6 separate regions of the Homo sapiens genome follow, and all the other regions are linked to region 5. The links are contacts of gene promoters, found by promoter capture Hi-C in blood cells and fetal thymus (Javierre and others, 2016). All regions are on one chromosome and are shown on one strand. Each heading gives the region's core, a stretch centred on a gene start or on the middle of the fragment in contact. The rest is flanking DNA. Distances are from core to core; before and after follow the strand shown.

Evidence for each region. The method cuts DNA at HindIII sites, captures the fragments that hold promoters and counts their contacts. A CHiCAGO score of 5 or more calls a contact.
Region 1: a fragment that was not itself captured here is called in contact with the fragment with the promoter of NRN1 in region 5 in 5 of 17 cell types (M1 macrophages, M0 macrophages, M2 macrophages and 2 more); the score reaches 8.2 in M1 macrophages.
Region 2: a contact is called between a fragment that was not itself captured here and the fragment with the promoter of NRN1 in region 5, in 3 of 17 cell types (naive B cells, total CD4 T cells and naive CD8 T cells). The highest score is 6.6, in naive B cells.
Region 3: a fragment that was not itself captured here is called in contact with the fragment with the promoter of NRN1 in region 5 in 5 of 17 cell types (fetal thymus, non-activated CD4 T cells, naive CD8 T cells and 2 more); the score reaches 6.8 in fetal thymus.
Region 4: a contact is called between a fragment that was not itself captured here and the fragment with the promoter of NRN1 in region 5, in 1 of 17 cell types (naive B cells). The highest score is 5.4, in naive B cells.
Region 6: a contact is called between a fragment that was not itself captured here and the fragment with the promoter of NRN1 in region 5, in 1 of 17 cell types (naive CD8 T cells). The highest score is 5.3, in naive CD8 T cells.

What each region holds. Positions count from the first base shown.
Region 1 is chr6:6,506,450-6,510,424 of GRCh38, reverse strand. The region is part of intron 3 of LY86-AS1 (LY86 antisense RNA 1); the gene reads left to right. Among named protein-coding and RNA genes, the nearest start is that of LY86, 80 kb to the left of the region's middle. The HindIII fragment of the contact is 892 bases long and covers 1,165-2,056 here.
Region 2 is chr6:5,509,582-5,513,498 of GRCh38, reverse strand. The region is part of intron 4 of FARS2 (phenylalanyl-tRNA synthetase 2, mitochondrial); the gene reads right to left. Among named protein-coding and RNA genes, the nearest start is that of FARS2-AS1, 53 kb to the right of the region's middle. The HindIII fragment of the contact is 8,689 bases long and covers 1-3,917 here.
Region 3 is chr6:5,662,185-5,666,433 of GRCh38, reverse strand. The region is part of intron 6 of FARS2 (phenylalanyl-tRNA synthetase 2, mitochondrial); the gene reads right to left. It overlaps LOC101927950 (a long non-coding RNA gene), which reads left to right. Exons shown (of 4, transcript NR_110842.1): 4 at 976-1,449. Among named protein-coding and RNA genes, the nearest start is that of FARS2-AS1, 210 kb to the right of the region's middle. RefSeq lists an enhancer at 18-1,217. The HindIII fragment of the contact is 1,404 bases long and covers 883-2,286 here.
Region 4 is chr6:5,525,510-5,529,916 of GRCh38, reverse strand. All of the region lies in intron 4 of FARS2 (phenylalanyl-tRNA synthetase 2, mitochondrial), which reads right to left. Among named protein-coding and RNA genes, the nearest start is that of FARS2-AS1, 70 kb to the right of the region's middle. RefSeq lists an enhancer at 1-536. The HindIII fragment of the contact is 231 bases long and covers 1,157-1,387 here.
Region 5 is chr6:6,004,490-6,008,718 of GRCh38, reverse strand. It overlaps NRN1 (neuritin 1), which reads left to right and starts at 1,794. Exons shown (of 3, transcript NM_016588.3): 1 at 1,794-2,024. The coding sequence starts at 1,970. The HindIII fragment of the contact is 16,379 bases long and covers 1-4,229 here.
Region 6 is chr6:5,567,323-5,571,621 of GRCh38, reverse strand. The region is part of intron 5 of FARS2 (phenylalanyl-tRNA synthetase 2, mitochondrial); the gene reads right to left. Among named protein-coding and RNA genes, the nearest start is that of FARS2-AS1, 110 kb to the right of the region's middle. The HindIII fragment of the contact is 1,181 bases long and covers 1,740-2,920 here.

The DNA.
Region 1 (3,975 bases), core at 361-2,860, 500 kb before region 5:
TTAATTACGTATGCTGTGTAATTATGGTACATATCAAGTTAAAAATGTACAAATACACATTATACCTAAAATAACAGTTATAGCTCATAAGGCAACAAAGGAAATAAAATGGAATTCTAAAAAATGAAAAGGAAAAAGGAATAAAAGTACAGATGTGACAAATAGAAAAGAAATAGCAAGATGACAGACTTAAATTTAACCCTACCAGTAATCACATTAAATATAACTGATCTAAACACTGCAATTAGAAGGCAGAGATGGTCAGATGAATAAAAACACAAGAACTAACTATATGCTTCCTTCAATAAACACATTTTAAATGTAAAAACACAAATAGGTTAAAAGCAAAAGGACAGAAAGAGATACATTATGTTAATAAAAAGAAACTGTATTGGCAATATGAATGTCAGACAAAGTGGATTTCAGAACAAAATAATATTAGCGATAAAGAGGGATATTTCATAAAAAGGGGTCAATTACTCAAGAGGACATGACAACCCTGAACATTTATGTACCCCAAAATAAAATTTCAAAATACGTGATAGAACTGAAAGGAAAAATAGATAAATCTATAGTTACAGTCAGATATATCAATCTCAATAATGGATAGAAAAATTAGGAAATCAGCAAAGACTGGGAAGACTTGATTAACACTATCAACTGATTCGAGCTAATTGCCTTTTATAAGACACTTTATCTAACAACAAACTTTTTGAAGTGCGTATGAAAAATCTACGAAGATAAAGAGATAGTAAACTTCTTAGGGTACGCATAAATCATTAACTGAATGTTGGTGGAAATATGAACCTAAAGTCCATTCCGGTGAGGTCTCACAAGGAGATGAGGAACATGTTGTTGGAAGCTGCAGGAAAGATGATCTCTGTCATAATGTGGCAAAGAACGGACTGAACTGTCTTCTAGTGTTTTGTGAAGGGGGGTAGAACTTGTGAGTGATGAAATTGGAGTTTTAGCTGAGGAGATTTCCAAGCAAAGTGTTTGAAGAAATGGCTTGGTTCCTCCTGACTGCTTACGGTAAAATGCAATAAGAGAGAAGTGAATTTAAGAAGGAAATGTTAAGCAAAAGGAAGCAGAACTTAAAAGTTTGGAAAATTTTTAGCCTATCCATAATGCAAAATATAAAAAGCTTGTTCTGAAGAGAAAGCTTGTTCTGAAGCCTGAACAACAATTTGGGAAGGAGATTAGTATCGGTGTGATGCAGGCACCTAGACACCCCAGCAGAAACATCGACAATTTGAACTGAAGGAGACAGAGCTAGAATGAAATAAAGAAAGGCCATCAGACTTCTTAGATAACTACAGGACTGGACCATAGAGATATTTGGCTGAAAATACACACTATTCTTCAAGACAAGGGAAGAATGACCCTGAATGGGATTCAGAGATCATTCAGAGTAATGAGTCCAGAGCTAACAGGCTGCACTTCAGCAGTAACATTTTATTTGACTAGCACTGAGTGAGCTTCCTCACTCCTGTGAGGATATGGTAGTTTCCTTCTTTTATTCTCAACTCAACTTAGAAAAATCAGTCAATAGTCAGTGGGTGATCTTCTTTACATAGGAAGTTGATGACAATCCACTAAAATTACGCAACTAAATTGTCAACTAATGTGACCATTACATAATGAAAATATTTAATAATGAAATTTCCAAGACCATCAACAGGCAAAGAAACTTGACATCTTTCAAAGTTAATTAGCAAATGTTTATCAATAATGCTTATTTTCTTAAGCGTTTTCAAATGAGATAATTTTAGATATTTTCTCATTGAGTGAGGCATCATGTAGTGTTTGGGATGAGGAAACAAAACTAAACTGTGTTTTGGGTTGCGTAAATGTCAGAGATCAATGCATTGTTAAATAGAAGGCATTCCACTTGGGAATGACTCCTTTAGTCTTGGTTCTGCCCTTCATGTGAAAATGGAACATTCAGAGAAGCCTTATTTGCTATTGAATATCTTTCTCTACAAAATTAGAAACAAATAACTAAGCCAAGGCTAGGTTTTGTGTCAATCAAATGAATGGGCCTGTAGATAAAGCTTTGCATTAGGATTCCGACGTCCCTGGCACAGAGATGGATTTTTCCCCCTTCATTCAATAAAGAATTCTACTGGAAAAAACTGTGGTATTTTCATGGGTAGAATAACTCAACTTCGTAAAGTTCTCCAGTCAATTCATAAATGTAATGCAATTCCAACAGCCTTTTAACCAGTTAAATAGATTGTAAACATCTTGTGAAAAAGTGTATAAGAATGACCAGGAATATTTTAAAAAAGAAAAACAATGAAAGAGTACTATCTTTGTTTGATATCAAAACATATTTTAAAGCTACCAGAATTAAAACAATGTGGTATTGGTGCATGTCTAGGAAAACCAATAAATGAAACAAAAAGTTCAGAAGCAATACATATTACTAATTTAGTAGGTGATATAGATGGAATTTTAATACAGTGAAAGAAAATAGGGAGTACCGAGTTAACGCTTTTGGATCATCTTTATAATTATCTGGTAAAAGACTGAATTTCCATCATACATATTATATACACAGAAATCTACAGATTGGCTACAATTTAGGTGTTCAAAATGGGAATTAAAAGTATTATAAAAGCATATAAGATTCAGAAAGTTTAAATAGATAAATATTTTCTAATAATAAAACCATTAAAAGTTGATAACATTTTTGACAAAACAATAGCATTGCAAAAAATTTTAAACAAAGTGAAAACACAAAAGGAAAAAGGGCCAATTTCACATATATAAGCATATATATTTATATGAAGACCAAAACCCAACAGGAAAATAAAAAAAAAAGAAAGGATAATTTATTTCTTTTCCTTTCTTTCCCTCCCTCCCTCCCTTCCTTCCTTCCTTCCTTCCTTCCTTCCTTTCTCTCTCCTTCTCTTTTTCTTTCTTTCTTTCTTTCTTTCTTTCTTTCTTTCTTTCTTTCTTTCTTTCTTTCTGTCTGTCTGTCTTTCTTTCTGTCTTTCTCTCTTTCTCTCTTTGTTTCTTCTTCCTTTCACAGGGTTCCACCATGTTGCCCAGGCTGGTCTTGACCTCCTGGGCTCAAGAGATCCTCCTGCCTTGCCCTCCCAAAGTGTTAGAATTACAGACGTGAGCCACTGCAAATGTCCCTGAAGGGGTAACTTATAGTAAAGAAAATATAAATGATTGTTCTCAAATGAAACAAAATGGTGTTCAACTGTATTTATAATAAAGGAAATAGTAATTAGAATGATAATGATGCATAATTTACTTACCTATTTTTAACCTGTAACATTAGTAATACATGCTGCATTGGTTAGAATGTACAGACATAGGTTCTTTCATATACTGTTGGTGGAAATGTAATTTGGTACAACCTTTACACAGTGCAATGTAGCAATGCCTTTTAACATGCAAGATGCTTATACCCTTTGACCTTCTACGAACTTAAGCTCATATTATTAACTTTAGGTGTACAATGTTTTGTTATGTAAACTACATTTAACTAATTATTAGGTTGATGCAAAAGTAATTGCGGTTTTGCCATTACTGTCAATAGCAAAAAACAGCAATTACTTTTGCACCAATCTAATAGTTTGCTTCCAATTTTTTGCTACTATAAACAGTGTTGTAATATAATCTTTTAAAATAACTCTACACACTTGTATTATTTCTGAAGGACAGATTCCTGTAAGCATAATTGTTGAATCATTTCTAGCTTCTCTGAGTGAACCTGGAAAAATAAACTTGAAATTCAAGGCCTATTATAGATGCCATCAGTAAAAAAAGAACCTCCTTTCCTTTCCAAATACTTCTATCTACTTTTCTTGATAGTTTCTGCACCTGCCTTCAAAAGTTCACATTTTCGTTACAGTTTTTCTTAATTTGCCTCTATCTCTGCACTGTCATGGCTACTATTCATAGCATTTACCTTCATAAAAAATAGCCACAGTTACTTAGGACTTTACCTTATTATAA
Region 2 (3,917 bases), core at 1,350-3,849, 500 kb after region 5:
CTCCAAATCATTCTAGACCTTCGGCTAAATATCACTTCTTCAGGTGGCCTCCCATGGCCTTCTGAATTAGGATAACTTCCCCTGTCAGTACTTTCTGGTATGGTCCTTTTTGTAATATTCAGGTATTCACTCAAAAACATTGACTGAGTCCCTCCTACATGTCAGGCACTGCTCAAGTTAATGTGGATACAACACAAACACGGCTCAGCTCCTTTCCCCAGAGTTCCAGTCTCAGGTAATAACCTCGCTGTTCACAAGGTTCCTGACTATCTGAACTCCATTCCCTCCCTCACCTGTCACATGAGATGAGTCACTAGGACTTGCTGATTTTGACCTCTGGATTCCTTCGTGAACCTAGTTTCTCTCCATCCCAACCACCGCCACCTCATAGTGTCCACCCTCTCCCCTAGGAAATATTCCCATAGCCTCCATCAGGTTTTCCAGCCTGCCATCCACCCCTCTCCAACCCAACCCACGCATCTGCAATTGGAGTGTCTAGGATGAAAATCAGACAAGGACACTTTCTTGCGTCAAACCTATCCAGGGTCCCCAGTGTGTCTGATGACTGGACATCAGTCTACATTTTTCCCTCACTCCCATATTCTCCCATGTGAGACCTGTGCTTCTGCCATAATGAACTATTTGCAGTCCCCAACCTATGTTCTCCTTTTTTTATGCCTACTAATGACACCTAGCACACACAGTTCCTGTCACCTACTTTGTGCTTAATACATATTTTTTGCTGAAAAGAATGAATGCATGAAAGTGTTTGTGTTTTTACATTTACTAGGCCTTCTGCTTGAATTGTCCTTTGTCACCAAATTATCAATGTCTTTATCACATTTGAATCTCGGGTGCCTGGCACAGCATCTGTAACCTAGGAAATGCTGAGTAATGTTTTCAGACTAAATGGATGGACAAATAATTGACGGGCAAACCATCTACCTTAGCTTAGGACACAAAGTGGAATACAAGTAGGTAGAAAGCAATGATTTCTCCTTCATAAAGACACCCAAAAGCCTTTGCTAATTTCCTTCAGGAACATGAACAATGCAAGTCTTGAGAGGTAAAATCAGAATAAATTATTAGTGACCCCAAGGAGAAGACATGCCCTTCTTGTTTCATTTTGTTTTTAATTTGGCTGCTATTGATTGAGGTAGCATAGAGGTAGCACCAGGTAATGGAAAGAGCATTGCCCTGGGAGTCGGAGGACCTGAAGTCAATTCCAGAACTGGCTCTCCCTCTAATTAGCTGTGTGGCCTGAATTCAGCTGAATCAGAAGCAAGCCCACCCCCCGGGCCTCCTATTATGTGAGCAATTGAATTTCCTTTTTTTGCTTTAGTTGGGTTTCTGACTCTTGGAACTAAAAGAGTGCTGACTAACATCCCATTCTTATCATCTCTTGTGGTTGCATTTACTGGGCGGGTAAGCCAAAAAATGCCATAAATAAAGCATATTCTGATTATAGCAAAGCACTTGGCTGAAGTCCCTAGAATATACTCACAAAAGAGAAAAGAGGACTCAACTGTTTATTTAGATGGATCTGAAACTTGTTGAACCTTTATATGTGAAAAGTTCTGATTAATGAATGTGTACACATGGAAAGAGGTTTCTTGTATCCTCTAACAGACTCCTGAACCTGTCCCTGTTCTATTTAGGGTTCTCAGCAGCCACTCAGAGAAATAAAAGGGGTGCTTATGAGACTTCTAGATCCCTCAAAGCTAGAAGAAATCATTAATATAACAGAGGCATGAGTCAAGATTCACCAGTTTAATGAGGAAAACAGAGAAAAGGCATGGTTAGGGCCACAGGTCTACGAAATGACCCTTTTCCTCCAATAGCCCTCCTAATACATTACCTGGCTTAGGCATTACCTGGCTTAGGAAATGAGACTCTTCTGTTTTTCTCTTTGGTTTTTATGGCTTGTAATGAAGTTTCTTGTCTGCTTGTGTGTTTTTATTCTACTTTGTGCGCAGGGTATTATTTCTTAATTGTACCTATTCCTGGAATTATTTGGGAAACTTGCCCATTTGTGATTAATTAGCTTTTTGATTATTATGTGTTTAAGAGCCTTGTGCCTTCAGGCATGTGCACCTAAAAATTAAAATGTATTAATACGAACATAATGAAATCAATATGATTTTATGTAACTGCATGATTTATGCTTATTGAGGAAGTTATTTAAGTATAATTTATAGGTTAGTTCTTACAGCACAAATGCTTTCCTTCTCCTCATTTTCTCTTTTTCTCCTGCAGGAAAATTGCAAGATCCCTTAAATACCTTCTCATGTACAAAATCTTCATCTTGGCATCTATCATTCTTTCTTGTTCTTACTTCTGTCCCTCTACCATTCATGTGCTGGTTTGACTAAACGTTGGACCAATCTGGGGTGAAAGTGTGGGACACTTGTGCCATCTGGCCTCTCCTTCTCCCTCCTGTGTCTTGAGAGAGAAGGGAAGCTCAGTCCCCTCTGAGCTCAAGCATGGGAGACAACTCAGGCTCTGATCCTCAGGATCCCCGCAAGCCCTGCTGAGGGAGGGAGAGGAGGAGATCTCACATCAAGCCCACTGGGGGGCTGCATCTCTGCATACCGGTAAAGCCCAGCACAGACAGGCACTCCTAGGCATCGGCCTGCCATTAATAAATACCAGCTCATCTCTCATTGGCTCATTAACTTCCTGAGGTCATCTCCTCTGACAGTGAATCCCCAAAAGGACAAGAGGACAAGAGGGGGGTGGGTGGGGCTCAGACACAAGGCTGGGAACCCGTTCTACTACATATGGGGTCAAGCTCATCACTGTGTCAGCACTCACGTACTCGCTTCTCACGCGGCCAGCGCTGGTGAGTGTGCTAGCTCTCTAGCAGGTCCAGGGGCTGCAAAGATGAGTGAGACACAGGCTCCGCACACAAACAGCTCACAACCCTCTCCCGCGCTCAAAAGGCACCGTGTGCCCACCGTGTGCAAAGCCCTGGGCGTGCGGCGGGCATTCAGGAGCTTAAAGACTAACTAGGGCGAAAGACAGGCCAGGCTGCGGCGGAACTCACGGTCAGACAAATGCTCTCTGAGGTCTGAAGGGGAGAGGCTGCTTCAGCTCCGCAGTTCTGTTGGGGTTGCCTGGAAGGAGGCAGGCCAGGATGGCACCCTGCAGGGAGAGGGCGAAGGGACCAGGCAGCATCTCCCCTAAGGGGTCGACCCAGGCAGAGTCTTCCCTAAGGGGTCGACTAACTCATCTGCCACCCCTGAGGAAAAATAATGTAACGTTTCACTCTGCAGATATCCACAGAATCACTGAACTAAAAAAAAATTTGAAATGAGGCAAAATCTTTGTTTAAATAGAAAAGGGAGCAAAAACCAACCAACCAACCAAACAAACAAACAAAAAACCCCTCCAAACCCCAGCCTTTGGTTGTCCTATAAAAATCTAGCGGTGCTGCCTTCTTGCCATCTATCCAGATGACACTCTCCTTAATCCCCAGCCCAACACTGGCGGGCCTCACAAAATGTAGAGCTAAAATTACAGTTAACACCACCATAAAGAGCTCCACATTAAATGAGAAAACAAAATTGGGCGACATAATGTATTTTGAGTAAGAGGAAAATAAACCAGAAACGATGTGTATATATAAACATGTAGAGGAGTGTGCATATGCTATGTGTTGGTATATATAGATGTTGTGTTGTGGATAATGCTCTTCCCAGTAACCTGTTTTTTAAAAACCAGCACACTCCAGCAGGTATCCCCATAAAGAAACCACCCACTTTCTGCAGAGACCACAGTCCCCACGCTCAGTCTTTCCTGCTGAGCTTCCACAGCTCTCCCGCTCTGGCGCCAAGCTAGATGGACCACCCTCTGGACATCCTTTTCTCCATCATTATCGACTCCTTGGAAAAGTAAGCCACTCACAAGTAGCTGGG
Region 3 (4,249 bases), core at 335-2,834, 340 kb after region 5:
TGGCTGCTCTCCTGACTTGAACTCCTGGCAGTGGAGGGGCAGGTTGGTGGCATTTCTTTCAACTCAACGCAAATTCAGGGACCTGCAGTGGCCATTAACCAGCAAGTGTTTACTGAGCATATTTCTGTGCCTGACACTACATAAAAAGCAAAACAAACAATATTGTTGACTCTTACTTATGTTTCTTTTAGTTAGGAAATAAATATTCTAAGTTAGTTGAGGGAGTTACTGGATTCTTCCTTACACAGCCCATCATTCCTGGCACTAAGAACTGCACACATGAGGTACCCAGTATTTTGGGTTTAGTTGAGTTCAATGAACCAATAAATACCATAGTCTTTTCAAGTGCGGTACGCTAGACCTGCTATGCTATGAATCTTCCCTTCCTCCCTCCAGATCCTGCCATGGAGCCAGAGGTACTTCCCTTCCCGGGGTCTCTTCAATGCCAGTGCCTGTGCGATTACAGCCACCTCCTCTCCAAACCCTCATGACATTCAGCCACCTCACCAACTCCTCCCACTCAAGGAAGGGTGGAATTGTCCTAAAAAGGAAGCAGAAAGCTCTCACCTCCTGCCAAGAAGCTGCCCAGTAGTTGGTAGTAACTGGCTTCTCACTTACCAATTTGAGTCCTTCCAGGGTCTGTTTTGTGAAAGGATGAAAAAGGCAATACTATACAGTTAAACCTCAAAGGAATTAGTTGAAAGAAATTTCCATTATCTTTTCAAATGGCTAAATGCATCTCAGCCCCTTATGTTTCCAGACATTGTTTAGAACGTCCTTCTCTCTATCCCAGATCACTAACATGCCTGCTCTGGGATATGTGGTTCTGGCTCAGACAACCTGATCTGAGGGGGGAAATAAATATGATAGAAACATAAAGCTTACTACCTTATTATCAACCGGTTAGAAATCACCTCATCCACACACACCCAGGCCTCTGTGTCTCTCTGACAGTCTCCTCTCAAATCTCTCTAGAGTCTGTGAGACTACAGCTCCGAGAAATGCTTCCTGTTTTGAAGATGGAGCTGCATCGTGACCTCCGCACACCTGCCTAGTCAGCATACCCCAGCATTCTTGCAGCTGTGACCCATGTGCTTAGCAGCACTGTGGAGTGCCAGCCTCAGCCACCCCTGGAGAGAGCCCGCAGAACCATGGCCCCTATTCACCTGCCAGCGGACCATGCTGCTTGTCAGCGGAGGCTCCAGATGTCAACTCTCCAGGGTGAGCCATCAGTCAACATCCTGGCCATCGGGGTTTTTGGGTGAGCTTCCTCAGGACAATGGTCTCATGTGACCGCCCAGCTCTACTTAAACACATTTAGTCCCTTCACAAATAGCCTGTCCTTAGAAAGCTCTTTGTGAGGAGCTGAAATCAACCTTTGATAACTTTCTTCCCACTGGTCTTTGTTTTGCCCTGAAGCAACAAGTATACTCCCTTTTCTCTTTAAAACAACAAATAAAACAAACAAATGAAAAAATGCCTCAGCATCACTGTATATGAAAGGATACAGGAAACCAGATGAAGAGAACTGGCAGGACCAAAATAATAAAAATGAAGTATCTTTGTGAACAAGTTAAGAAGCAGGAACAAGACTTCTAATCTCTTCTCCGTCCAGCTGCCCTTGAGCTACTGAATGATAGACCCATAGGAATCTTCAGAGATCACAGTTATATGCCTACGCTGAGGAAGCGTCCATGTTGGTGCTCTTAAGGACTAGGACTAGGATGAGATCCATCCTCAACATCTCATGTCCTACTAAGAGAGACAGACCAGTCTACAAGTAAGCATAACACAATGTCCACTTCTTATTCTAAGAACTTATAGTCATAGATTATAGGATATTTTGTGCTTTTGAGATGATGCTTTTAATGGATTAATTATTCATTTAAAACAGAAGTGGAGGAAACCAAGGGAAGTCAGCTTACTACCTTATTATCAAGCATGAGGTCTGGATATAACCTGTGAAATCATTGGTGCAAGACCAAGCAGACTCTGGGCGAGGGATCCATGCCCAAGGCCTGGAAGCCAGCTCCCAGGGTGACAGGCAAAGGCCTCGGCTCCCCTGGCAGGACCCTCGGTGTAACACTGGCTGCCTTGAAAGCATTTTCTAAGTGGAAATGAGTCAAGGGGGTCCACTTGATTCTCAGCCACTTGGATAGTCTTTGACTTCCAAGCCCTTTCTCTCCTCTCCAGCACAGGGGAGTTCCTATTTTCAGCATAAAATTAGCATAGAGATGAAACCATTTCAGGGAGCATAGAATGAACTGACACAGGAGACATTAAGCTTTCTGTTTCTAAAATGAAAAAGTTTTCCTTTTTCTTTAAAACCCCAAAGCTGCCACTTAATTTGTGTTCAGATTGCACTTTCACTGCAGAGCTGCTAACAGTGGGATACTGTTCAGAGGGGCTGAGGAGGCCAGGGGGGCCACAGATCTGAGCTGTGAACACAGCCATCTACTGTGGGGCCACTTAAGCACCTGCAGTCCATGGCCCTGGCCAGCGTGCATCCATCCTTTCTGCCTGCAGTAAAGACACCAGTGCAGCCCAGGTGCGCACAGTAGTGCTGAGTACATCTTCCCTGGAGATCTAAGGAGCAAGACCTGGTCCTGCTCACCTCCATGTCTGTCTCTGGCTCCCCTCATATCATTTCAAAGACATCTTCCTTGTTCTTTTGGACAGGATTTCTCTTCATCTCTCTTCCCACTGGAAAAATGATTCTAAATAGCTGGACTGGGACGAATGACAAATCTGCCATGGAGCCCGCGCCACCCCTTCTTCCACACCAACTTTTGTCTTTTTTTAGGTTTTCTCACATCTCTCCTCTCCGCTCTTTTAAGCTCTCAAGTCCTCTCCACTTTTTCTTTAGTGGATTGCTTCTGATCTCATCGAAACACATTCTCTGAGTCATTAACAATACGAGGCACTGAAGAAAGCTGTCTGCTGGTGGCCCCAAAGGCAAGCCCTGTCCAATGTCAATGTCAGGGCTTTTCAATTAAGGGAGCACAGAGCAGCTTTGAATAATGCCAGATCTTTACGGCAAATGATTCCATCCAAACAGATATTGGGAAGAATTTTTTTGAAAGTTCAATCATCTGATCTGACTGCTAAATGTTTAAAACAGCTGAAAAGGAAAGAGGTTTTATTTGTGCCAAGCTGGCTAAGATACTCCCTACATTGAAGAGCCATTCAGTAGCCAGGGGGGCTTGTTTTTAATGCAAAGGGAGTGGCTACTGATTATTATATATCTGGGAAATGAGAATGTAAACATTCACCTGCTATAAAATCTTATTACTGTGAACCATATTATTTTAGACATTGTGAAAAACTGGACATAGAATCACCTCCTTTTAGAGTTGTATGTGACTAAAACAATAAGTGTTTCCCAAATGAAACTGCAACACGTGGAGGCAGCAGAAGGTAACAGGCTTCCGAAGCACCATCACTGCATCCAAGATGCTATCATAGAATTTATTAAGTACTTACTATGCATCAGGCATTGTTCCAAGAGCTTTATGCAAACTAATTTAATCCTTACAATGATCATATGAGCTTGGGAGTATTATGTCTGCTTTATAGTGAAGTAAACTGGGGCACAAAGAAATTGTAACCTGCCATGGTCACACACGGCCAGCAAGTAGCAGGACCAGCGTTCAAACCCGGGGATCTGATCTGAGAATCTTCCCTCTTGACCACCGCACACACCAATTCTACTTTGCTAGCTTCTCGATGAAGGGCTTAACACTTGACTAATTTGCATAACTTTCTAAGATAATTATAGTTTTGATAATTAACTGAAAGTAGAAGTTCATCTCTTTATACACATTTGGATGGATCTAGAGACACCCGTCCCTGAGTTAGTTCAAACGGTGAAGCCAGCAAGAGGAGTGGCCTGGGTAGGTAATGCCTCCCTCCAGGGCTTCATCCAGAGAAGGATCAGGGGAGGCTCCTTCCAAATGCAAGCGGCAACGTGACTGATGCTCTGGAAGTCAGCAGTGTGGGTGACTATTTCCACATTGCTGTTTTAGTGAGTTTAACATATAGCACAGAGGTGCCTTGAGAATGATGGTTGGATTTCATAAATTACATTCTGCTATTCATGGGGAAGTCCCTGCAAAACTAAAGTAATAACATGCATGTAGAACTGTAATAATAATATTGTCTGCAATGCACTGCAAGGATGGGAAAATATAACAAATGAATAGAATAGTTTGTAATAAAAGAGCTGACAAAGAAAAAAAGAATGAAAATA
Region 4 (4,407 bases), core at 23-2,522, 480 kb after region 5:
TTCTCTTACATCATCCAACCAGCTAGCTTGGGCTTATTTATGTGGTGGTTGCAGGGTTCTAATTGCATCAAGAGAGCAAGCCCCAGGGTGCAATCACCTTTCATGCATCTGTTTTCATCATGTTTGCTACTCCCCTGATGGGCCAAAGCAAGTAACAGAGCCAAGTCAGATTCAAGAGGCAGAGAAAGACTGTCTACTCAGCCATTAAAAAGGCTGTGAGAAGCCATTAGAGTGGCTTATCTTGCAAAGTCTGTTCAGCTGCTTTACTCTAATATTCATTTACTCATTCAAATGATAATTACTGTGACTTAGGCTGGGCACAGCGGCTGACACCTGTAATCCCAGCACTTTGAGAGGCTGAGGCAGGTGGATCACGAGGTCAAGAGATTGAGACCATCCTGGCCAACATGGTAAAACCCCGTCTCTACTAAAAATACAAAAATTAGCTGGGTGTGGTGGCAGGCGCCTGTAGCCCCAGCTACTCGGGAGGCTGAGGTAGGAGAATCGATTGAACCCAGGAGGCGGAGGTTGCAGTGCGCCGAGATTGTGCCACTGCACTGCAGCCAGGCGACAGAGTGAGACTCTGTCTCAAAAAAGAAAAAAAAGTTACTGTGACTTGTTTTTGTACAAAAAATGTGATAGATGCTTTCTGGCAAACAATACCATATAAAGGAAGGAGAAAGAAACATTGACTTGCTCATCACGAGTCAGAAAATATGACCTCATTAATTACCACATCAACTCTGTTAGGTCACTATCACTAGCTCCATTTTATAGATAAGAAAACTAAAGTTTAGAGAGTTTAATTTGTCCTAGATTATACAGCTATCTAGAAATAATTTTGGCTGCAAGCAATAGAAAACTCTATTAAAAGTGATCTAAATAAGAGACATTTAATTTCCATAAAAAGGATTCTGAAGATAGGCATTTCCAGATTTGGTACAGGAGCAAGAGGATGCCACTGAAGACCCTTGCTCTTTTTATCTTTCTGCTCCAACATCCTTAGCAGGTCAGCTTCCATTATTATTATGGTAATTTCATAACTACAAAATGGCTGGTCGATCTCCAGTCACCACGTATCAGTCAGGAGGAAAGCAGGAACAGTTCCAGTGTGCATGACTTACATACCTGTTGCTTTTATAGGGAAACACAAGCTTTCCCAAGGGTCCCCAACTGTCTTACATTTCATTGCTCCAAACTGGTTTGCTTGACCACCCTTAGATTTAAAGGATGTGAAGAGCATAAGTGCCTGGCTTTTCCAAACTCTGGAGTGGATGTATGTAAGGACAAGTGGTGCTAGGACTGCCACTGAGTCAGTCAACCAACAGCAAGCAAGTGCTCGATCTGGGATGTGAACCCAGGTATGCGTAACTCCATAGTTCAAGCTTTCAAGGGATGTTTACTTTGAAAGCAGAGAGAGAAAGACCTATAAATACATATGCAAATCAGTGCCATGAGTGTTAGAAATTAGGTTCTATGGGGTGACAGAAGAAGAAGAGGTCACTTTAAACATCCTGAACATGGATGTTTTGGAAAAGTCAGTCAAGTATGGTCTTAAATGACATGTAGGGGTTTTCAAGGTGAACTAGGCACAATGACATATATGTACCTGTAGTCCCAGCTACTCAGGAGGCTAAAGGGGGAGGATTACTTGAGCCCAGGAGTTCAAATCCAACCTTGGCAACAGAGTGAAACCTCCATCTCTTTTTTTTTTAAATACAAATTTTAAAAAAGGTAAAGATCTTCCAACAAGAAGGAAAAGTAAACACAAACATACGAAGATAGAAATGTGAAATGAAGATGAATTGACCAAATTGGGATAGGGTATTGCAGAACCTTTTGAAAACGTAAAGGGAATAGTTATGCCTTGCTTAGCATTTATTAATAGTTAAAGGCTAAATATACTGACTTGCATATGATCTACCAAGGACTCACATACCACCTCCTACATCTCCCTTTGACTAGCCCCCAGTACAGCATTATGTCTTTCATCCTTTTCCCTCAAATTTCAATCTAAGTTCCTGGAACTCAGAATTAAGTATTGTTAAGCAGATCATTGCAACAAACAGTTTTCATTCAGCAAAAGATACATTTCCTAACAGTTTACCAGTCTTGAACAATTTCCATTTTTCAGATAGAAGTTGTTTTTGTTTGATTGTTTGTTGTGGTTTGTTTTTAGTTGCTTGAATTGAATTGCATACAGAGCTTCAGGGAACAATATATTCCCCCAAATTTATAGGCAAGACTTTAAAAATCTGAGTGATATTTTAAGTGCATTAAAATGATCATTATTCAAATAATCACTTTCAACTTAATGTGCATTCTTCATATATCAGTTTTTATAATGTGAGTCATATCCATAAGAGGAGTTTGAGGAAACACTGTTGAAACATTGTACAGAGTTGTGAGTGTTGGGAAATATTTTCATTTACTTCAACTGTATTATTAAATTCCTTATTAACAAGAGTTATCAAAACTAGGCCACAAGTAGAAAGCTAACTAGAGTTTAGTGAGTTCACTACAGTAAAAATAAGTCTTTCGGAAAGAATAGAGCAGAAGGGAAAGGAAATTGAATAAATCCTCTGAGCCAAAATTATGGAGACACTATGACTGTAGGAGATATGCCGTTGGACGGCAGGGTCAACGCAGTCCCTCTGACAAATGCCATGAGACTTTATTGCTGTGATTCCACTCACAAAATAGACTTACAGGGTCAGTTCCAGCTTGGGAGAAGCACTGGCCCAGCACATTGCTGACTGGTGAGAATATAACCGAAGAGTTGACAGAAAGAAAAAAACAGTGGATATAGCAGTTGAATAACTTTTATGTATATCTATATAATACTGTATACATTAAGAAGACTGTCTGATTCCTTCCTGAGTGTGGAGAATACGAAAACCCACTGATAAACCTTTTAAACACTTTCACCCCTTGATGAAATTCTTGAAGTATTATGGTACATATACTTATCTGTTTCTTTCTGTTAAGAAACCAGGCATAGGCCAGACGTGGCGGCTCACACCTGTAATCCCAGCACTTTGGGAGGCTGAGGCGGGCGGATCATCTGAGGTCAGGAGTTTGAGACCAGCCTGGCCAATATGGTGAAATCCTGTCTCTACTAAATACACAAAAATTAACTGGGTGTAGGGGTGGGCACCTGTAATCCCAGTTACTCGGGAGACTGAGGTGAGATAATTGCTTGAACCTAGGAGGTGGAGGTTGCAGTGATCCGAGATCCTGCCATTTCACTCCACTGGGCAACAAGAGCGAAACTCCATCTCAAAAAACAAAAAAGGAAAGAAAGAAAAAAGAAAAAAGAAACCAGGCATAATAGTGGCTTTCATATCTCCACTAGAAAAATTGCTTTCCAAAATAAAAGTTAATAGTGCTCTATTTCTTGTCACACTGTTATAATTTTTTAACCAGGAAAGGAACTTAATTTAGAGTAAGTAATGCCACTGTCACTTAAATATATGAATGATAAAAGGGATCAGCTGCTCTAATTCCATAATTCCCAAGTAATGACAATTAATGAAATACTTTTTACTAGAGGGAGTTGTTTTAAGCAGTAGATAAAGGAGTCATTGAGCCTTTTAAGATTTATTCTCATAACCAAATTGCATCTCTCTTCATCATTATCCAAAACATAATTAAAAGATGACATTTAAAAACAAACTAGAAAATCAAACTGCATCTCACTCCCAAAGGAAAAGCAACTGAGAGACAACTCTTTCCTTCCACTTGAGCGCTGAGAGGAATTTGAGAGAAACTCCCATCTCTAACTTCTAACTTTTGTGCTTCAGCTGTGGCTCTGGAGCACCAATCTCACGTATCAATACAGGAAACACTGGATAATATTATCATTGAATCTTATTGGATAGATACTAATTGAGTAGTTTCACTGCTGCAGAAATATTCTTCAACCTTTCCAAAAAGAAAACAAATCAATAGGGTTACCTTGTAAAGACGTCTGTTTTCTCCCTCAGTTTGCTTCAGTAGCGTAAAATTTATTGAGTTGCACATTTGTAGTCTTCCTGTTAGAGCATCTATTTTACCAACTATCTACACCAACAGAAAAGGCATCTTTTAATATTTGCCCAAACACAAAATTCAGTGGCCTCTATAACTCCTTGGCTGAAGCCAAGTTAATTATCAATACACAAAATTTCTGAGAGAAAGTTAAACATCTTGATCCAATCTATTCCCAAGTATCTTAAGGGCAAGTAACTAAAACCTAGGCAAGCTCTTTGAACTGCTTTTTCCTCCTTATTTTTAAATCTTAATCTACTAGTTTCTGTTCCCCTCATTGACACTCACACAGTTTTCTTTATAAGACTTAACTCTAACAAAGTGTTTGCTACTGGAGGGCACATCCCTTATGAAGCTACGGTAATCAGAGGTTGATTA
Region 5 (4,229 bases), core at 545-3,044:
ACATAACCAGGGGCGGGGAGACATGACTCCGCCCCCAGGGCCAGGAAGGCTGCATGGGAGTCTGAGGCTCCCGCGGGACGTGAGTTAGGGGCCGCACATTGCAGACACCTCACGTCACCAAGTGCTGCAGTAGGACCCCCGCAGCTTCCCCTCGGCCCCCTACCCTCCACAGCCTGTCCTACCCCCGTTATTTTGCACCTTTCTCCCCCTTTGTCTATGCATCTCCAAATATCTGAGTATGGGGACGGCAAGATTGGCCCTAGAGGGCAAGCTGCCTGTAGAAGCAAATTCAACGCTTCTCCTTAATCCGTGTGCATTTCTACAGTTTGACAGCTTGACGTCCTCTAGTGTAGTTTGGCAAAATTTGGGGGGTCGTTTTCATTTTTTTCTCTCCACAGGCTTAAGGATTAAAGCTGGCCAATGCCTTCTTTAGCATTTTATTAAAGACGCTACAATTTAGACTTTTTTTTTTTCTGTTTGGTGCAGAAGAAAGGAAGAAAACCAGAGCTTAAAGGCGTTTAGAAAGGAAATAGCCCTGTTAGTTTTTCGGTTTTGACTCAAGCTGTCGTCGATAGCAGCTTGCACCTAGCACAAAGCCAGCTGCAGAAGTATTTTGTTGCAGGGTAGGCTACACCTACACAGGGTCTGTGCCTGAGCATCAAAAGACAGTGCAGGTGTGTGTGGGTCCGGGTGTGCGTGTGCGTACGTGATGTACGTGTGTGCGTGTGGGTACGTGTGTGTGTAGCCCAACAAATAAGCCCAAGAGGCGCATCAAGATTAGAAAGAAGTCCGCACACCAGCGCTTGCCTTGGAAATTTCCTAAAGCGCTGAGAGTTGGTTGGTAAATCACTAGTATCCGAAAACTGTCTTATCAGAGGCTCCTTCCCCGGTGCCCTACTCGCCCCCTAAAACAGGTGTCGCTGTGTCCCTTGAAGCGGCCTTTGGCCCGCTGGGGCATCGCAGGTGGGTAAAATTCAGAGGACATTCGGTGTTTATTTCTGGGGCCCCACGTGTGCAAACCAAACCCCCGGGGCCTGGGCGTGTGCGCGCGCTCGCGTGCCTTGTGTGCGGGCGGGCATGGGGGCGCTCGGCGCGGCTGGCGGGCGTGCGCGCGCGCGTTTGTGTGTGTGTGTGTGTGTGTGTGTGTGTGTGCTCGTGCGGGGGGCCGGGCTGCGTGCTCACGCGCTCCAGGCTGCGCCCAGAGCTCAGCTGCTGGGTTGGAGAAAAAGAGGGTAGGCAAGCGCAGGGGGCGGGCGGCCGAGGAGCGCTTTCGAATTAATCGAGCTAGCTTAGCTGTTTTTCCCTCTCCCGCTCCTTTAAACCCCCCTGCATCGTAGAGAGCGGGCTGGATTCTCTGTGGTGCTGATGGAGGAGGGGGAGCAGGTTGAAACAATCGAGTGGGCGCGCCAGGACTCCCCAGCTCCTGGCGGGGAAGGGAGGGGGAGCCCCTGTTCTGCGCAGGGAGGCGGCGGGGCTGGGGGGCCCCCGGAACGAGGAAGAGGCAGGGGTGACCGCTAGAATAGGAAAGTGCTCACCCCCGGGAGGCAAAATTTCGTTCAGATCGCACATTAATTGGAGATATCTGATTAATTCCAGCTTCTGATGACTATAAATGGCGATTCTCTACCAAGGTGTCTATATTAAAAAAAAAATCATTCCGTGTCATCCCCCACGTCAGGCCTGCTCGTGGGCGTGAGGCTGTACTTCCTCCGCCCCCTTCTAATGGAGTGAACCATTCCCAGCTCTCCCCCCCCCCTCAGCCTCTCTCTCTCTCTCTCTTTCTCTCTCTCTCTCTCTTTCTGTCTCTTCCTCGCTCCCTCTCTTTCTCTCCTCCCTCTGCCTTCCCAGTGCATAAAGTCTCTGTCGCTCCCGGAACTTGTTGGCAATGCCTATTTTTTGGCTTTCCCCCGCGTTCTCTAAACTAACTATTTAAAGGTCTGCGGTCGCAAATGGTTTGACTAAACGTAGGATGGGACTTAAGTTGAACGGCAGATATATTTCACTGATCCTCGCGGTGCAAATAGGTAAGTGGCCGCTCAGCCCGGCTGGAGGCTGGAGGCGGGAGGCAGCCTGCCCCGGCCCGAGGCGCGGAGGGGGACTAGCGGGTCCGCGGCCGCCCCAGGGTGCGGAGAAGCCGGCAATCCCCCGAGGGTGGGGGCATCAGTTCCTGGGGACTAGCGCGTCCCAGATCGGTTTTTCCTAAAGCTATAGATTCCAAATGTTCGCCAGGAAATGTGTGCGGCCGGACATTTTCTGGACACGGTTTTTTTCCCCCTTTTTCCTGAGCACACATCCATTTTTGTTTCCCTTTCTGGGTTTATACCAGGTTTGGTGCGCTCTGGGGCAATGTACTGGCCCCTGCGATACTGCAAGATATGATTTTGAAGAGTCGAAATGTGAATGCAGGAATAAAATGGCTAGGCAGCCAGGACTGGAAAGTTTATGTGCTGAAAGCAAAGATATTCCAGGGCTCAGACTGCTGCATTTAGAACTTTGTCATTCTCCCGCCCCTCCTCCCCCCTATATCCTAGCTGCAGCGTTTGCACGGGCACCGCAGACCCGGCTGGTGGGCAAATCGAGAGTGATAGGGAACTTCAGACCACATATTTTAACATGCTTACCATTGAAGAGGATGAATTCAGCCAAATTTACGTAGATATACTTTTCTAGATGCATTTGCCTGCTACTTTACACATTGGTGTCTGCATTTTATATATAGGAAAGGGTTAAGAAGTGTTTGGAATATGTCATGTCGGGTGTTTGTTATTTTTGTTTGTTTGGGATTGGTTATGGAAGGAATTATTTAGTCCCCATTTTATGTTAAGGAATGTTGAGTTGTAGTTACGCTGTCAGGGGTCTTTTTAAAGTTCACATTTTTACCATCCAGAATGAAGAAAAGATATAGAAGAGGGCACTAGAAAACCCCCTTCTCCGACACTGGGTCAGAACATTAATTAACGTGGCCTAAAAGTGAAAGTGAAGCAGGTTATTAATAGAATGGACAACACGGGGGAAAAAAGAAACTCCTGAAACGGAATTGTTACCTCCTATCAGTTCAGGCTGTGGCATTCTTTGCAGACAAATCCTTGCAGTATTGGGGGAGGGGGTGCTTTAGGTAATTGGTTTGGGGCAAGAAAGGAGAATGCATAATATGTTTTTTCCATAAGAAATGTGAAGGAAACAAGGTTTGGAGTTCTCTAGACCTTAAAATGGATTCTTTGCAGTGGGGTTTTATGCAACTGACATGATTTTGAGATTTTATAATGCAGAAACATTATAAAGATTTTAGAGTGTGTGAGTGCAGGATATTGGTGTTTTCCTTTAGTTCCAAAAAATGACAATGCTTTAAATCTGGTTGTTTTGAATCTTTGACATTAGTGAAAAGAGCTGCTGTAAATAATATTTCTAATGGCAGCAAATTCCTTAAATGTTGGAAATAAGTGAATGTGGCATTTTGCAATAAACCTTTGAATTTTTAGAGAGCAGGAGAGAGAGTTGTTTTTGAGATAGAAATTTTAATCGGACAAGATTTGGGACTCTGTTTTCCCGGTAGGAAATAACCTTACTTTGAGAGGTTTGGAGGGAAAAAAAAGACGGTGGTCGTGCCTGAGGGACGCGTTTTGAACACATTAACCTCGGTCCAAAAATGACTATTTGTTGACTGTGGAATTGAAATTGAACGTATTTGTTCCCTAATGTCTGCCCTTTCCTGCAACAGAACCTCGGTCTTTATTAATTCACGGCTGGGAGCTGTCCCAAATCATTGACATTTGGCAAGAAAAGTGGGGGTTGGGAGGGGCGGGGAGGTAGAAGAGTGTGGTGAACACGAAAGAAGACGCAGCAGGAGGAAGTTCGGAATGAATGAGAGGTCGAACGAATGAATGAACGGATGGAAACCGCACAAGAAGGGGACGGCAGAGAGGACAGGGAAGGAGCCAGGGTCACCCGCTAGAGTCTCGCCTAAGCGGGGTTCAGGAAGGACAGCGAGGGACCCACGGGCTGCGACCTGCTGGGACGCGTGCGCCTGCAAAATCCGTCCCGCGCGCAGCCTCCCGGCCTCCCAGAGAAGGCTAGAGTCCAAGGAGTCACAGTTTTAAAAGACAGAAATGTTCACGACTTATTTTACACAGCACACACTCACACATGCGCGGTGTGCAGGGTCTTCTCCAGCAGCGCCTGGGAAGATAACGTGACAAGAGCGCTCCCGCCCCCGGCGAGCCCCAATTCCC
Region 6 (4,299 bases), core at 1,081-3,580, 440 kb after region 5:
CGGGTGCTAGAGCCACTAGATGACACAGAAGGGATGATCAGGAGGTGACAGATGATAGCGTGAAGCAGAGGGCTCGTGATTCAGAAAGCCATCTCTGGAAAGGCCAACTTGAAGAATCCTAATGAAGGTCCTAGTTGTGCCTTCTTTTCAACCTCCCATGCTTCAGTAAGTAGGATTCTCCACGTGCGTTGGTGAGGCTTTCTTTTTTATATGATTTAATAATCTTTTCCACTAAATTAGCTATTATCATTTAATAGTTAAGTAAGCATCTAAATCAATTTGAAATGAAGGTATTACACCCGTATGTCACAGAAGACGCATGAATTAAGCTAGACCAAAATGAAATTGACATCTGCTTATATTCGTGTAGGCCCATCGTGCATAGTTTTACACATTTCTATAGGCTCTCCTCTGATTACAATAACACTAATTAGTCAATAAATAACGTTTGAGGTTCTACCTCATTTGTTCAGCATGCAAGTTCCATTTACATACTAACGGCTGCATATTTGCCTTTAATAGATGCACGATGTGGAAGTAAGTATAATAAATGAATAACCGTTTGAGTGAAAAGTTACCAAGTCTTCACGAAAAATTTGAAAACGAAACAGTCAGTAAGTCTATTTATTTCTTCTATACTAGGAAATAAAGCTAATCCCAGGATGAGATGATAAATGGAAATTATTTCAGAGTGGCACAGTAATGGAAGTGGCTCAGTGATTCTTCCACAAAGAAATGTGCAGAACCTGACGGATCAGGCTTGGCTTCTGTGGTTTGAAGCTGGAAATGCGTGCACAGCTGTGGTGACAGTGCAGATTACCCCCGTTTCCAGAGGTCTGCCAAAAGCTTTTCTTGTTCCAGTTCTAGCATCTATTAAACAATCAGGTTCTCCCCGTCAGCAATCATGTTGTGGTTCTGTGCCCAGAGGCATCACTTTTTGAGGTTGAAATAACCTATTAACAGAGTGTCTTCCATTCTCTCTTTTTTTCTTTAAAAAGGCTAAATGGCGTAATACAATTTTCTGTGCAGCAGGTGTGTAGTTAACAAGGTGCTAATTGGGAAACTGGGTGAGAATAATAAGAAACTCATACAAAACTGGAAATCTGAACCATGCAGGAAGAGGGCAACTGAATTACCTTACAATATGCAAAAATTATGGTAATACAATATTAAAGATGCAAATTTAAGCCCAGAAGAGTGAAATAAAGAGAAGATGTTGTGGTTTTTATCACTGCACCAGAATGCAAAGTGCACACCATAATACTCAAAATTGTCAAAACTTTAAACAAATAATGCAAGTCAACTTTCAATATCATCGTCTCTTCTCATTTCCTCACATATCCACCAAAATAAACACCTTAGGAAGATGTTCCAACTATTCAAATCTAGATAGCACTTTCTAGATAGAACATTTTATTCTATCTTTTTTCTTTCACTTTTCAGTCCTTGGTCAAGGAAGAAATATTTTCTGCTTAACAGACAGAAACATTTGGGAGAACAGACCTCCAAAAGCTTAATACAGCTATGATTAAAAAGAAATAACAATGTGAGTTTGGCTTTTGCTGATGACTAGCATTTACATAACCTGTCCTTAAGCAAGGTTCAAGAATTGAAGGATCCTTAAAGAGTCCAGCATGTTGGGCAGGCAGGGAAGAAACACTGTATGCCTGACCCTGACATCCGTCTTCTACCTCTCTCCCCAACCCCTGTTAATGCAGTCCTCTTTTCTGGAGGAAGCTTTCCTTTATCTTACCTGTTGACCTTTGCACTCTGTCCTCTTGACAGCCATTCCCAAGCATCAACCCATGCCAGTGCTTGCTCAGCAACTACCTCTCCCCCATAACAATATGCCCTGACTTCACCTCCCCTGGACCATCCTCTCTTAAAGGGCTCAGCTCTGACTCATCCTCCACAGTAAACAACCCTGTTCCAACTTCTCACTTCTATCTTGGCCTGAGTTGTCACTTGGGCCAGCCATACCTAAGACCAGTTGCTCAGCTGAAGACTTGACTATGCCAATTAAAACAAACAAAACAAAGACAATGACCACTACCACCACCACAATGAAGTTGTTTAAATTCACATTTTTATATTCCTGCTCAAATACGGTGGCTCACGCCTGTAATCCCAGCACTCTGGGAAGCCGAGGTGGGTGGATCAGTTGAGCTCAGCATGGACAATGTGGCGAAACCCCATCTCCACAAAAACTATACAAAAATTAGCCGGGCATGGGGGCATATGCTTATAGTCCCAACTACTCAGGAGGCTGAGGTGGGAGGATCGACCGAGCCCAGTTGGTCAAGGATGCAGAGAGCCATGACTGTGCCACTGCACTCCAGCCTGGGCAACAGAGTGAGAACCTGTCTCAAAAAAAAAAAAAAAATTATACTCCTGTACTCACCTGGCCAAAATTGAACTCATCATCTTCTTCTCCAGACCTGTTTTTTCTCCTGTTTCTCATCTACCCAGCTCCCAAGGCAGAAACCTAGGAACCATTTTCTTTCTGGCTCATGTTTACCTACTGTGATTAAACACCCACTTTACCCAGGTCAATCCCAGTTTGCACCGAGACATGCAACACAGTTATTAACAGTGCCCCTGCAAGTCTCAAAGGCAGCCAGACCCCAATTTAGGTGTTAAGCCATAGGGTCACTCTGCCTCTGCCTCACATAAGGATCCAAGATCTTTCAATGTTTTCTCCTAAAATTTCCTGAGCCCAACCCTACCTTCTAGTCTCTCTGTTACTACCCTACATGATATCACATCATTTCTTCTGTGCCGGGCCTCGAGTGGGCTCCTAGCCTCATGGCCCCAATCTATCCTCATCTTATCCGCACTGGGATCTGTCTAAAATAGAAATCTGATCACAAAATTGGATGTCTTGCTAATTGCCTTACAGAAACCATTCAAAGCCTAAGCTTTGCGAGCTAAGTTTGCCACTGCCCACATTCCCCACACTAACTCAGCACACTCTGCTATAAACACCCTACACTGAACCACAGACTATGGCTGTCTCACGCCTCCAGGACTTTGCTCACACTTCTGTCTCCTTCCCATTACTGGACTGATTGCCTGCCACACAGTGCAGACTCCTCAGGCCTAGCTACCTTTATCAAGCACCTATACATATTAATGCCCCTCCCTCACTAGTGCGGGAGCTATCTGAAGGCAGGAAACTATACTTCCTGTGTCCCCAGGGTCAAGCACGGTGCCTGGCACAAGAGCAGATGCTCAGAAATGTTTTATAAATAATTAATAACGCTCTTGTGTTTGGGATAAATCCTGTTGAATGTCACATACATCAACAAAAATCTTAATAAAGAGCAGAGAAATCACTCCCATTGTGGATTTATGCAGCCTGGGACCATTTCCCCCTTGCTATGTTGACAGTTGAACGTGAATCAGAACCGCATATTACAAGAGTGACAAGAGACAGAGTGAAAGAAAATGCCACATAGAGAAAAACAGCAAGAGACACAGACAGAAAGGGGGAAGGACAGAGACAGACCAGACAGAAGCAGAGAGAGGGCTTGCACTCTGCACTGTTCACATAATCACAAGTCAACAGAGAAACACTCATCTCTTTTCACAACAACTTTTTTAAGCTGGCAAGATTAAGTCAAGATGAATGTCAGGAGTAACAATGCAATCTGAGGTACACAGAAGAGGAGATAGGAAAATCCTACTCACTTTCATAGCATCCTAGAATAAGGAGTGGCCTTTGAGAGTATCTGAACTTATTTTACCAGTGAGAAAATGTAGTGACAGAACAGTCAGGTGAGTGACCCAGGGGAAAATAGCTAGCGACTAGCTAAATAATTCCAAGGCCTCTAAATTTCAGATCTCTTCTGTCTCATCATACACTCAAAGATGATGTTGGGGATGGATTTGACTGTATGTCGTATATATGCATAAACATGGGCAGAATTTTAAAAGACTCTTAGAATCAACTCTTTATCCTCCATCTATTGTCTGAACCTTAGGAATCTTAACATGTAGGACCTAGGGTGATGACACCAGGCTATACTCAACAAATAGATATGTATCTAGAAGAGTAACAGCAAGACAAAGAACGAACCTCAAAAACCACATCAAATAATATCAGTTCCTTGTGGCCAGTAATGGTCTAAATGTGATATATATTTTCAACCATCATGCTTAACAATGTAATCTGTACTGGCAGCAATTTGTTTGCAGCAATACGATGGCCACATTTGCAAATGATTTCCTTTTAAAAATATATAAAAATAACAAAAAACAAAGAACTCAATTAAAAAATGCGCAAAGTACTCGAAAGGA